Linked DNA regions of Homo sapiens: region 1 is linked to region 2. Evidence: promoter capture Hi-C in 16 types of primary human blood cells and fetal thymus (Javierre and others, 2016). All regions are on one chromosome and are shown on one strand. Each heading gives the region's core, a stretch centred on a gene start or on the middle of the fragment in contact. The rest is flanking DNA. Distances are from core to core; before and after follow the strand shown.

Region 1 (4,841 bases), core at 1,007-3,506, 190 kb before region 2:
CCCAGAGAGCGCTCCCTGCCAGGTGAGGACACAGCGAGGGGCTGCCTTCTGCGAATGGGCAGGAAGCCCTCACCAGAAACTGCACTTTCCGGCACCTTAATCTTGGACTTCCACCCTCCAGAACGGTGAGGAAATACAGTTCTGTTGTTTAAGGTGCCCAGTCTGGGGTATTTTGTCACGGGAGCCTGAGCTGACAGCGAGAGTGACAGCCCCTCCAGCAGGAAATCCAAGTCCAGGCGAAGCTCCTTGAACCCGTGGGCTTCGGCCAGGCACAGCTGCGCAAAGTCACGGCTGTTTCCCAGGAGCCCCTAACTTGTCAGAATGCAGCCTCTACATGTCCCTCCTGTGGGTCTCGGGGGCACAGTTCTGGATTTGAGGCGCATCTAGGGTGCAGCCCTTGTTCCTAGCAGGGCCTTTCCAGTGTCCCGGCCGTGCTGGGGGCTGGCGAGGTCCCCCTACTCGGGCTGTTCCCCCAGAGCTCCCGGCACCACTCGACCTCAGGTATCATTTTCCGCCGCCCCGACGAGGCAGCCACCCTCATAAGCCTGGGTTGTCTCACCTGCATATGTGGGGACCGGCTGATTCCCCAGGGGCCTGGGCGCAGAACCTCCGGGCTGACACTGTCACTTTCCTTGCCCTTCCCGTGTCCCAGGCCAGGCGGGAGGAGAAAGTGATGCAGTCGGCTGGTGGCAGCCGAGGCCACGGGGTGACAGCCCACTGTGGAAGCGGACACTGAGCAGGGCTGGGCAGCTGGGGGTCCAGGGAGGCTGGAAGCGGGGCCCATCGGGTAGGGCCTTCAGCACGGGCCGTGAGCCTGGAGCCCTGGGCAGTGGGGAGCCATGGAGGATGCAGGCAGGAGGGGTGTGGCCTCCATGCGTTTGACAGACCTGCTGAGACTCCACCAGGAGCCCTGTTTCTGTCTCTGGTCTATACCCTGGGGCAGCCTGACCACGACCCTAGCAGGGCGGGAGGGCAGGGGTTGCTGCCTTGCACGTGAGCTGCACTGTTTGTCCAGTAACCACGGAAAACACACCTCCTGTTGCCAGACCTGGGGCGGGTGAGTCCCCCCACACCTGTCACCCATCGGCCCTCCGGAAGGACACACCAGGCAGTGGCTTGACTTCACAGTTTATTCAGAGCAGGTGCAGGTGACCTGGTGGGCAGGGTGCCCAGGAGGGGCAGGGGTGGGCGGGCGCTCCGAACCTTGTGGTCTGAGGCAGGAACTCCATTAAATCAGCTCCTGCGACACAGAAGTGCAGGGGCTCAGGCCCGTGTGGTCTCTGGAGGCCCCACGGGGCTTCGATGAGGGCCACACGGCGGGACTTCTGTCCTCGCTGCCTGGTTTTGCGCAAAGCACCCAGCTCCCTGAGCGCCTTCTCAATCTGCAAAATGGGGTAACAGGCCCAGCCTCTAGGGCCAAGACAAAGCGAGGTGAGGGAGACACTGGGTTCTCGCAGTGCCCAACATGGGAGCCCTGAGGCAGCGCCCGCAGGATCTGTGCCCCGCCGCCGACGGGACCTTCGGGGGCAGAAGCAGCCGGCAGTCCTGCACAGAACACCGAAGAAAAGGCGCCATTTCTGCTCCCCTGCCCCACCCAGCTCTGCACCCCGTGACCCCAGCCTCCCAGGGTCCCTGCCTGGCAGCCTAGGGTCACCACCCTGGAGGTTCCAGCTCTTTCCAAACCAGGAGACAGACTCATCTCTGGAGCTGCCCACCAGTGGTGTTTGGTGTCCTGTTCACAGGAAGGGGTGAGAAGGCCCAGCCCAGGGCCGGGAGGCGGAGCCACGGGGGCTCCTGACAGGGCCAGGGACTGGGCCAGGGGCCCGGGAACTTCAGCACAGGCCAGGGTCGGGGGTCAGGCTCACCTCCTTCAGGAGCTCGGCACACCGCCCTGCAGGATAGGCCAGCATGAGGAGCTGCAGAGTCAGCCCACAGGGCCCAGCCCAGCCTCCACCCCAAGGCCCCTGGGCTCACCAGGCCGGGCCGCCAGGTAGAGACCAGTGTCTGCTGTCAGCTCCCGAAACTTCCAGAACCCCAGCCGGTCCTTGTCCTCAAGGCTCCGAGCTGTGGGGCACAGGGGGGCTGGGCGGGCAGTCCCTGGGAGAGCAGCAGCTGGGCAGAGCCCCCCAGGGCCAAGCTTACTAAAGTACTTGAGGACGCGAAAGTTCCTGCCCCGCCACATCAGGGACACCCGCAGGATGGCGTAGCCCTCGTAGTCGGTGTCCAGCACGTGGATCTCTCTGTGGCCTTCAAGAGCCGGCCATGGCGTTGGGGGAGACGTCTGAGGGGGACGGACCTCGAAGGCCAGGGTCTGCAGGGTCTAACTCCATCCTGCCCCCACCCAGTCCCAGCACTTGAGTGGTTGGAGACACTACAGAAGCTTTTGAAGGATGATCCAGTGTGTTGGTGGGAGAATGGGAAGGTCTGGGGCATGAAATGTGCAGGGAACAGCATGGGGAACAGTGCAGGGAACCCTGCAGGGAACAGCATGGGGAACGGTGCAGGAAACAGCATGGGGAACAGTGCAGGGAACAGCATGGGGAACAGTGCAGGGAACAGTGCAGGGAATGCATGGGGAACGGCACAGAGAAAAGTGCAGGGAACAGCATGGGGAATAGTGCAGGGAGCAGTGCGGGGAACAGTGCAGGGAGCATTGCAGGGAACAGCATGGGGAACAGTGCAGGGAACAGTGCAGGGAATGCATGGGGAACGGCACAGAGAAAAGTGCAGGGAACAGCATGGGGAATAGTGCAGGAAACAGCATGGGGAACAGTGCAGGGAGCAGTGCGGGGAACAGTGCAGGGAGCATTGCAGGGAACAGCATGGGGAACAGTGCAGGGAACAGCATGGGGAACAGCGCAGGGAACAGCATGTGGAACAGCGCAGGGAACAGCATGAGGAACAGTGCAGGGAACAGCATGGGGAACAGCGCAGGGAACAGCATGGGGAACAGTGCAGGGAACAGTGCAGGGAACGCATGGGGAATGGCGCAGAGAAAAGTGCAGGGAACAGCATGGGGAATAGTGCAGGAAACAGCATGTGGAACAGTGCAGGGAGCAGTGCAGGGAACAACATGGGGAACAGCACAGGGAATAGTTCAGGGAACAGCATGGGGAACAGTGCAGGGAACAGCACAGAGAACAGTGCAGGGAACAGCATGGGGAACAGTGCAGGGAACAGCATGGGGAACAATAAGGCCTAGCTGTGTGCACAGCCGGGTTCCACCTGCCATCACAGGGCAACTGCACTTACCAGGAAAAGCGAATTTTCCCGTACTGTCTATTTCTGAGCCCACGATCTTCTCTATCTCACAGCTTCCTGAGCTGAAAGGCAGCAAAGTGCCCATCGGTAAAATGCTAGCCTGTGTCCCGCCTGCTGGGCTCCTTCCCGGAGTGGGGCTGTGTCTTTAGGAAGGGCACAGGCAGCACTGTGGAGTATCCCAGGCCTGGAGCAGGATGAGGCGGGGAATGTGCCAGGTGGGGCCTTCCCCTGGGGATTCTGTTCCCTCCAGCCAGTCACCTGTCCCACACCCCTTTTCCTTCCTTCTAAGTTCACGGGGCTTCATTAAAACACTATGCTTATATTTGGGATAAAATGCAGATCCAGGAGCCTGGGGGTCGAGGGCTCAGGCAGACGGGCACCGGGAGTGCTGGCCCACCAGCGGGACGGCACTCAGCCCAGACCCCACGCTGCAGCGGGTGCAGCAACCCACGCCCAGTCCCCGGCCATGCATGCCTCTTCCTCTCCAGCAGCCCCCAGGCCTCTTACCTGTTATATGCAACCTTCACGGTCAGGTTACTCCCGCTCAAGGTGAGGAACAAGCCCTCCACCCGCTTCGGGGCCGTCAGCACCAGGCTTTGATCGGAGGCCACACCGACTTCCCTCCAGAATCCTCCAATCTAGAGAGATACGGAGCCTGGCCAAGAGCTGAGCAGTGGGTCTGAGACCCCCAGGGGCATTCCACGAACCCCCGGGCAGGGGCCTGCTGGGCTCTGAGAGGTCAGCAGATGGCTGTGAGGCTCGGTGGCAAAGCAGCAAGACATCTGTGAGCCCACTGTCCCCAGGCATGTGTCCCTCCAAGCGGTGCCTTCAGGCCATCAGACAGCAATGCCCACAGGGCAGCCCCTCCCCACTGGGCCATCTAGAGCTGCGGAACAGTCCCTAGGGCTTCTGCGACATGTCGGGAGGAACCACAGGCCCTGCCTGACCTCGGAGGCAGGACCCAGGAGCAGAGGCCTGGAAAAGAAAGCCCGCAGGGCGCGGCGGAGTGAGAAACGCCAGAGAACAGGTGGCTCGGGTAGCGCAGCTCGCCAGCCTGCCAACCACGCCAGAGGATGGGCCTCCTGCCCTCAGCAACCCGCCCAGAGCCGGGACTTCCGCTGAGACTTTTAAAAACCCTACCATTTTCGGGAGGAAAGAATCTTCGTCTCCGGCATCTACCTTCTCTGGGCCTGCTAATGTGCCTCTGGCCCAGCAGCCGGCACAGACTCAGCGGAGAAGAAAATGCCGCTAACAGGAAGTGTCTAGCCGGGCACCAGCGTCCCCACGAGCTCCCCACACCGGGAGAGGCCTCCTTCCCTGAGCCTGAGGGGTTGGGGGTGTAGGAGGAGCCCCACCAACTAAGAAGGAGAAGCCACCTTCTGCCGGTCCAGCTCCTCCATGGCTGCTGCCACCTGCGCCCGGAGCACCACGAGGACACCCAGGATGGTGCACGGCAGCCTGGCCTCCGTGGCGGGGTCCGGGCTCCGGGTTCCCCTGCTGCACAGCCTGGGCCGATTCTATACGGACAGTGCAGGCTTGTGCGCCCACCCGGGAATGTCATCAGGACAGCTTGGCTGCTG
Region 2 (4,930 bases), core at 2,431-4,930:
TCCTGCTCCTGGGGACTGAAGACCACTGAGTTGACCACATCCTCGTGCCGCAGCCTGGCCAGACAGATGTTGTAGTGGCGGTCCCAGATGTAGCCGTGCCGGTCCTCCGCCCCGCTGCAGAACAGCGCCTGGGTGAGCCGGCCGCCCGCCCGCTGCTGCCCACACCCGCCCTGCACCACGCCGCGCCCTGCACCTGGCCACGAAGTCCCTGCTGACGTCCAGGAAGATGAAGAAGCACTCGTCGTTGGGCGTGTAGGCGCGGTGCGCACGCAGAGCCCGCCTCACCTCCCGCATGGTCTTGAGGTCGAACACCAGCAGGTCAATCTCCTCCGCGATTGGTGGCGGCTGCATGGGGTCGGCCACCACCGCACCGTTGGGCCAGGCGCGGCTGTTCACGTACAGGTACCTGGGCGAGGGGCACTGTGCTAGGTGTGGGCCGCCTGCGGGCACCCCGCCTGGGACACTGGCAAGAGGCCCACCTGTTGTCGGGCGACAGGCCCATGCCGATGATGTGTCCGTGTATGTCTATGACGTGGTCCAGCGCGTCGAAGAAGGCATCGGAGCCCCGGCCCTCACCCAGCACGGGCCCTGCCGTGGTCATCTGGTGTGGCAGGATCTGCTTGATGCCTGCAGGGAGGGCTACGGTGAGGGTCCCTGTCCAATGCCCCAAGGACATCACTCCAGGGCAGCTTCCTACCTCAGTGGTGTCTCTGGGGCTGTGAGCACCACAGAGGTCCGTGGGCACTGCCTGCTCCGGGGGCCCCAGACCTGAATCAGGCCCGTCGGTTGCTTGCTGGCCAGCGGCCCTGCCTGCGTTTGTTTTCACTGCTCATCCCACAGGCCCCAGGTCTGGGCTTGTGACCCCAGGGGCGAGTGAACGATCCCAGCTTTGCCTGTGGACTTGCTTGCTGTCTGCCCCTCAGGACCCCTGCCCGGCCTCCCCCAAGCTCCTAGGACCGAGGCGGGCAGCATGGCGGCAGGGGTGTACCGATCTGGTGTGGGGAGTAGGTGAGGCAGCCAGTGGTGAAGATGAGGTACTTGCTCTTGGCGCCTGTGGCACTGCGCTCGGGTGGCTTGGTGTGGCCCTGGGCCAGCAGCTCGGCCACCTTGGTCTCTAGCATGCGCTCCGACAGCTGTGGCTGCGCCCGCCCCTCCAGCACGCGGTCCAGAAAGTGCCGCAAGCCCTCCTTGGCGTGGGCGGGGGCCGGGCCAGCCACCACCTCCTCGTTGTCGCTGCCCAGGTCAAAGATGCGGCAGGGGGACGTGGCCGGGTCACCGGCTTCCAGCAGCAGGTCAGGGCTGTCGAAGCGGCTGCAGTCGGCCACCATCACCGTGCGGACGGTGCTGGCATTGAGGTTCTGGATCTTGAACAGCCGCTTCACCACGTTGACGTTCTCTGACTCCACATCCTGGGGGCGGGGGCACGTGCCAGGTGGGCGCCGGGCGCCAGGCCCCAGGAGGGCAGCCCCGCCCCTAGCCCCGCACGCACCTGGAAGGCATTGTTGAGCCACAGCACCGAGCAGGAGGTGATATCTCCGATGCGGTGCAGGTTCCCCGAGATGAGGCTGGTCTCGGTGAGCCAACAGCCAAACACGTCATAGGGCTTGTTCCGCACGCGGGACAGCAGCGCGAAGGAGTCTGTGGGGAGGCCGGGGCTGGACAGGCTGTCGGCGTGGGGCGGGGGCAGGGTCAACCCGCCGCCCGTGCTCACCTAGGCTGATGACAGCAATCTCGCCGGATGAGGAGTTGTGCGGCCCCAGGAACACCCCCGAGGCCAGCAGTAGCGAGTCGTCCTTGTTGAACTGGGAGAACTGGGTGTAGCTCCAGTTGTAGGGCCGCATGTCCGCGCTGTGCAGCAGCGAGATGGTCAGGTCGTTGCTCCAGATCTGTTCGGCAGGGGCGGCTGTAGTGATCGCCTGGCCAGGTCGCGGGGCGGGGGCCTGCTACTACACAGCCATGAGGCCCCAGCTCTGCCAGCCCTACTCAGAGGCCACCAGGGAGCAGGGACCCCTTCCAGCCACTGTCATCCACTCGGGGGGCATTGGTATAGAGCGGAGGAGCCTGCCCCTGAAGCAGGCGGCTGTGTGTGGGACCCTCTCCTCAGCACTCAGGGCCACCCTGCACCGCTCCTGATCCTCTGTGGTCCCTCCGCTGGATGCAGGGAGGCTGCTGTCACCTCTGGCCTGACCCACCCCCCCCCCCACCACCACCTGGTTGGAACGCCTGGGTCCTGGGACCTCCGTGCTGCGGCAGAGCTGGGTGGGGTGTGCAGGACACCTGGCCGTCCTCACCTTCACAGTGCAGTCCTTGGAGCAGGACGCGAACTGGTACCCGGAATGGGAGAAGCTGAGGTGCAGGACCTGGTCTGTGTGTTCCCGCAGCGTCTGCACCTCCACGCAGGGCACCGTGTCATACAGCCGCTGGAACTCCTCGTACCAGGACATGGCCGCTGCGGGTGGGCAGTTGTCAGTCCTGGGCCCGGGCCTTCCTCGCAGTCACGGCCATGAGCCGAGTGTGGCCCCAGCAGTCCTGGCAGGCCCCGTGGTGCCCCTGGAACCCACTAGTCATGGCATAGGCCTCGGCTGGGGGATTCAACCCTGTAGCTCACAGAGACCCCTGTACCCCCCACCCCCCAAGTGACCCAATGAACCCTCTGGCCTCCAAGCTCTGAGGGGCGCCTGCGCTGTGTCCTGACAGGCCTCTATCAGGGTGTGGGGGGGTGAGCATGGACACGCGGGGCCGCGGGGCGGGCCCCCAGCCAGGCTGACCCCCAAGCGCAGGGGCCCGGGGCCCTGGCTGCAGAACGTGGGTAGGGGCCCCACACGCCACTGACCTGGGTGTCGGGGCACGTCGCGGGCCACCTGGTAGTAGCGGTAGAACTGCTCCCTCCACAGGAACTCGTCCCGCGACACGGCCTGCCATTGGCGGCACACCAGCCCGGCGGCCAGCACGTCGGCCGGGCCCAGGCTCAGGAAGATCTGGTAGACCAGGCTGTCGGGGAGCAGGGGCGTGCCGCCCTCGTCCATCGTGACATTCTGCCCAGGCGGCCCTGAAACCCACCAACGGCTGCCCTCAGCCCAGGCCCGGGAAGGGAGGCCGAGAGCGGGCGTCCTGTTCCTCCAGCCCCAACCGTCCCGCCGGGAGTTCCACGGGGCTGCGTGTCTGCAGGGGACGCCCGGGTACCGCCGCCCAACCAAGGACCCGGCAGCTCCGGGCGGGCCGGGCCGGCCCCTCTCCGCCGCGTCATCCCCCGGCCTCCTGCGGCCGGCAGCGGGCGCCCCTCAGCCCGCCAGGGCCCGGACCGCCGCACGCGAGGCACGGGGACACCAGGCGCCGTCCGGGGACGGGCTTCCGCCGAGAGGAAGCTCGGGGCGGCCAGGCAGTGGCCTCCGCCCTGCGGCCCTGGAGCAGCTCTGCCCGGCGGGCTCGGGGCGGACGGCGGGGACGAGCGCACGGGCGGCCTCGGGGCTCCTGCACTCGCCCAAGGCGGGCGGGGACGACAAGGCGGGACCCCCGAGGGCCGCAGGCGCACTCACCACGGCCGCCTCCGCCCGCTGCGCCGCCCCCGCCCTGCGCGACCCGGACCCGCTTCCGCTGCCGCAGCCGCTCGGACCGCCGCCCCCGCCCAACGGGGAGCCCGCCAGGCCCGACGCCACGAGCCCCGAGGCATCGATGGCCGAGGAAGGCAGAGCGCGCGGGTAGCCCGCATCCGCCCCTCGTGCGCCTGCGCCTTGGGCTCCGGCGGCCTGGCCGGCTTTTCTTTGTGCGCCTGCGCGCACTCGGGCGCATTGGGAACAGCGCCCCTTGTGGCCAGCGGGCGGCGGTCGTGGGCGGGGTTGCAGGCGAGGCTCAACGAACGCTGGTTCGGGACCCGCCTCCGGCGCTCCCTGTTGCCGGGCCCTGAGCAAGTGGCTTCATGAACCCCGTGACGTTGGCCATGGAGATAAGACCACTGGGTGATGGTTTAAGGAAGATAACGTGTAAAGGGCTAAGGACTGTCGGTGGAAATCAGGGGTGCAGGAGAAATGGATAAACAGCCAGAGGTCAACTCGGACTTTGTACATAGGACATGGTGCCAGGGCCCTGCCAGGAAGTGCAGATCGAAGCTAGGCTCACGAGGAGGCTGGAGGTGGGGGGTGGGGAGGCAACGGATGGACATGGACTTCCTGGGCTGGGCTCTGTGACAGCAGAGTAGACTCTGTCCTGGGACTTGGTGGTGCTACCCTTGGCCTCCCACAGTCCTGCCACCCTGCTGCCGCCACCATGCTGCCCCCTGGGACTGCGACCCTCTTGACTCTGCTCCTGGCAGCTGGCTCGCTGGGCCAGAAGCCTCAGAGGCCACGCCGGCCCGCATCCCCCATCAGCACCATCCAGCCCAAGGCCAATTTTGATGCTCAGCAGGTAGAAGTTGGGGGGGGTAGAGGGAGGCAGGTAGAAGTTGTGGGAGGGGTAGAGGGAGACAGGTAGAAGTTGTTGCGGGGGAGAGGGAAGCAGGTGAAGTTGTGGGGGGTGTAGAGGGAAGCAGGTGAGGGGCCCTCCCACAGTGCCCTCGAGTTCTCCCATGGTCTGCCCCCAGTTTGCAGGGACCTGGCTCCTTGTGGCTGTGGGCTCCGCTTGCCGTTTCCTGCAGGAGCAGGGCCACCGGGCCGAGGCCACCACACTGCATGTGGCTCCCCAGGGCACAGCCATGGCTGTCAGTACCTTCCGAAAGCTGTGAGTCCCAGAGCAGCCCTGCACCCTAACCCCAACCCTCCTCTCAGCCCCCGGACTTCAGCCCTGCTCTGGCCCCTGACCCCACCCCGGCTGTGGCCTGGACTAGGATTCCTGGTTGGGGTCTCCCAGCCTGTGGTGCCTCCTCCCCGCCCCCCCAGGGATGGGATCTGCTGGCAGGTGCGCCAGCTCTATGGAGACACAGGGGTCCTCGGCCGCT

The links. The method cuts DNA at HindIII sites, captures the fragments that hold promoters and counts their contacts. A CHiCAGO score of 5 or more calls a contact.
Region 1: a contact is called between a fragment that was not itself captured here and the fragment with the promoter of FBXW5 in region 2, in 2 of 17 cell types (endothelial precursors and erythroblasts). The highest score is 6.9, in endothelial precursors.

Annotation. Positions count from the first base shown.
Region 1 is chr9:136,753,270-136,758,110 of GRCh38, forward strand. It overlaps LCN8 (lipocalin 8), which reads right to left. Exons shown (of 7, transcript NM_178469.4): 1 at 4,638-4,841; 2 at 3,769-3,899; 3 at 3,253-3,323; 4 at 2,143-2,247; 5 at 1,975-2,064; 6 at 1,866-1,891; 7 at 1,117-1,240. The coding sequence starts at 4,661. The coding sequence ends at 1,229. Among named protein-coding and RNA genes, the nearest start is that of LCN8, 2.6 kb to the right of the region's middle. The HindIII fragment of the contact is 243 bases long and covers 2,136-2,378 here.
Region 2 is chr9:136,941,058-136,945,987 of GRCh38, forward strand. FBXW5 (F-box and WD repeat domain containing 5) reads right to left here and starts at 3,681. Exons shown (of 9, transcript NM_018998.4): 1 at 3,537-3,681; 2 at 2,834-3,049; 3 at 2,292-2,449; 4 at 1,712-1,886; 5 at 1,490-1,638; 6 at 989-1,409; 7 at 480-627; 8 at 194-406; 9 at 1-114. The coding sequence starts at 3,026. C8G (complement C8 gamma chain) reads left to right here and starts at 4,186. Exons shown (of 7, transcript NM_000606.3): 1 at 4,186-4,401; 2 at 4,577-4,713; 3 at 4,872-4,930. The coding sequence starts at 4,264. RefSeq lists an enhancer at 2,094-2,859 and silencers at 2,695-2,764, 3,145-3,724. The HindIII fragment of the contact is 9,073 bases long and covers 1-4,930 here.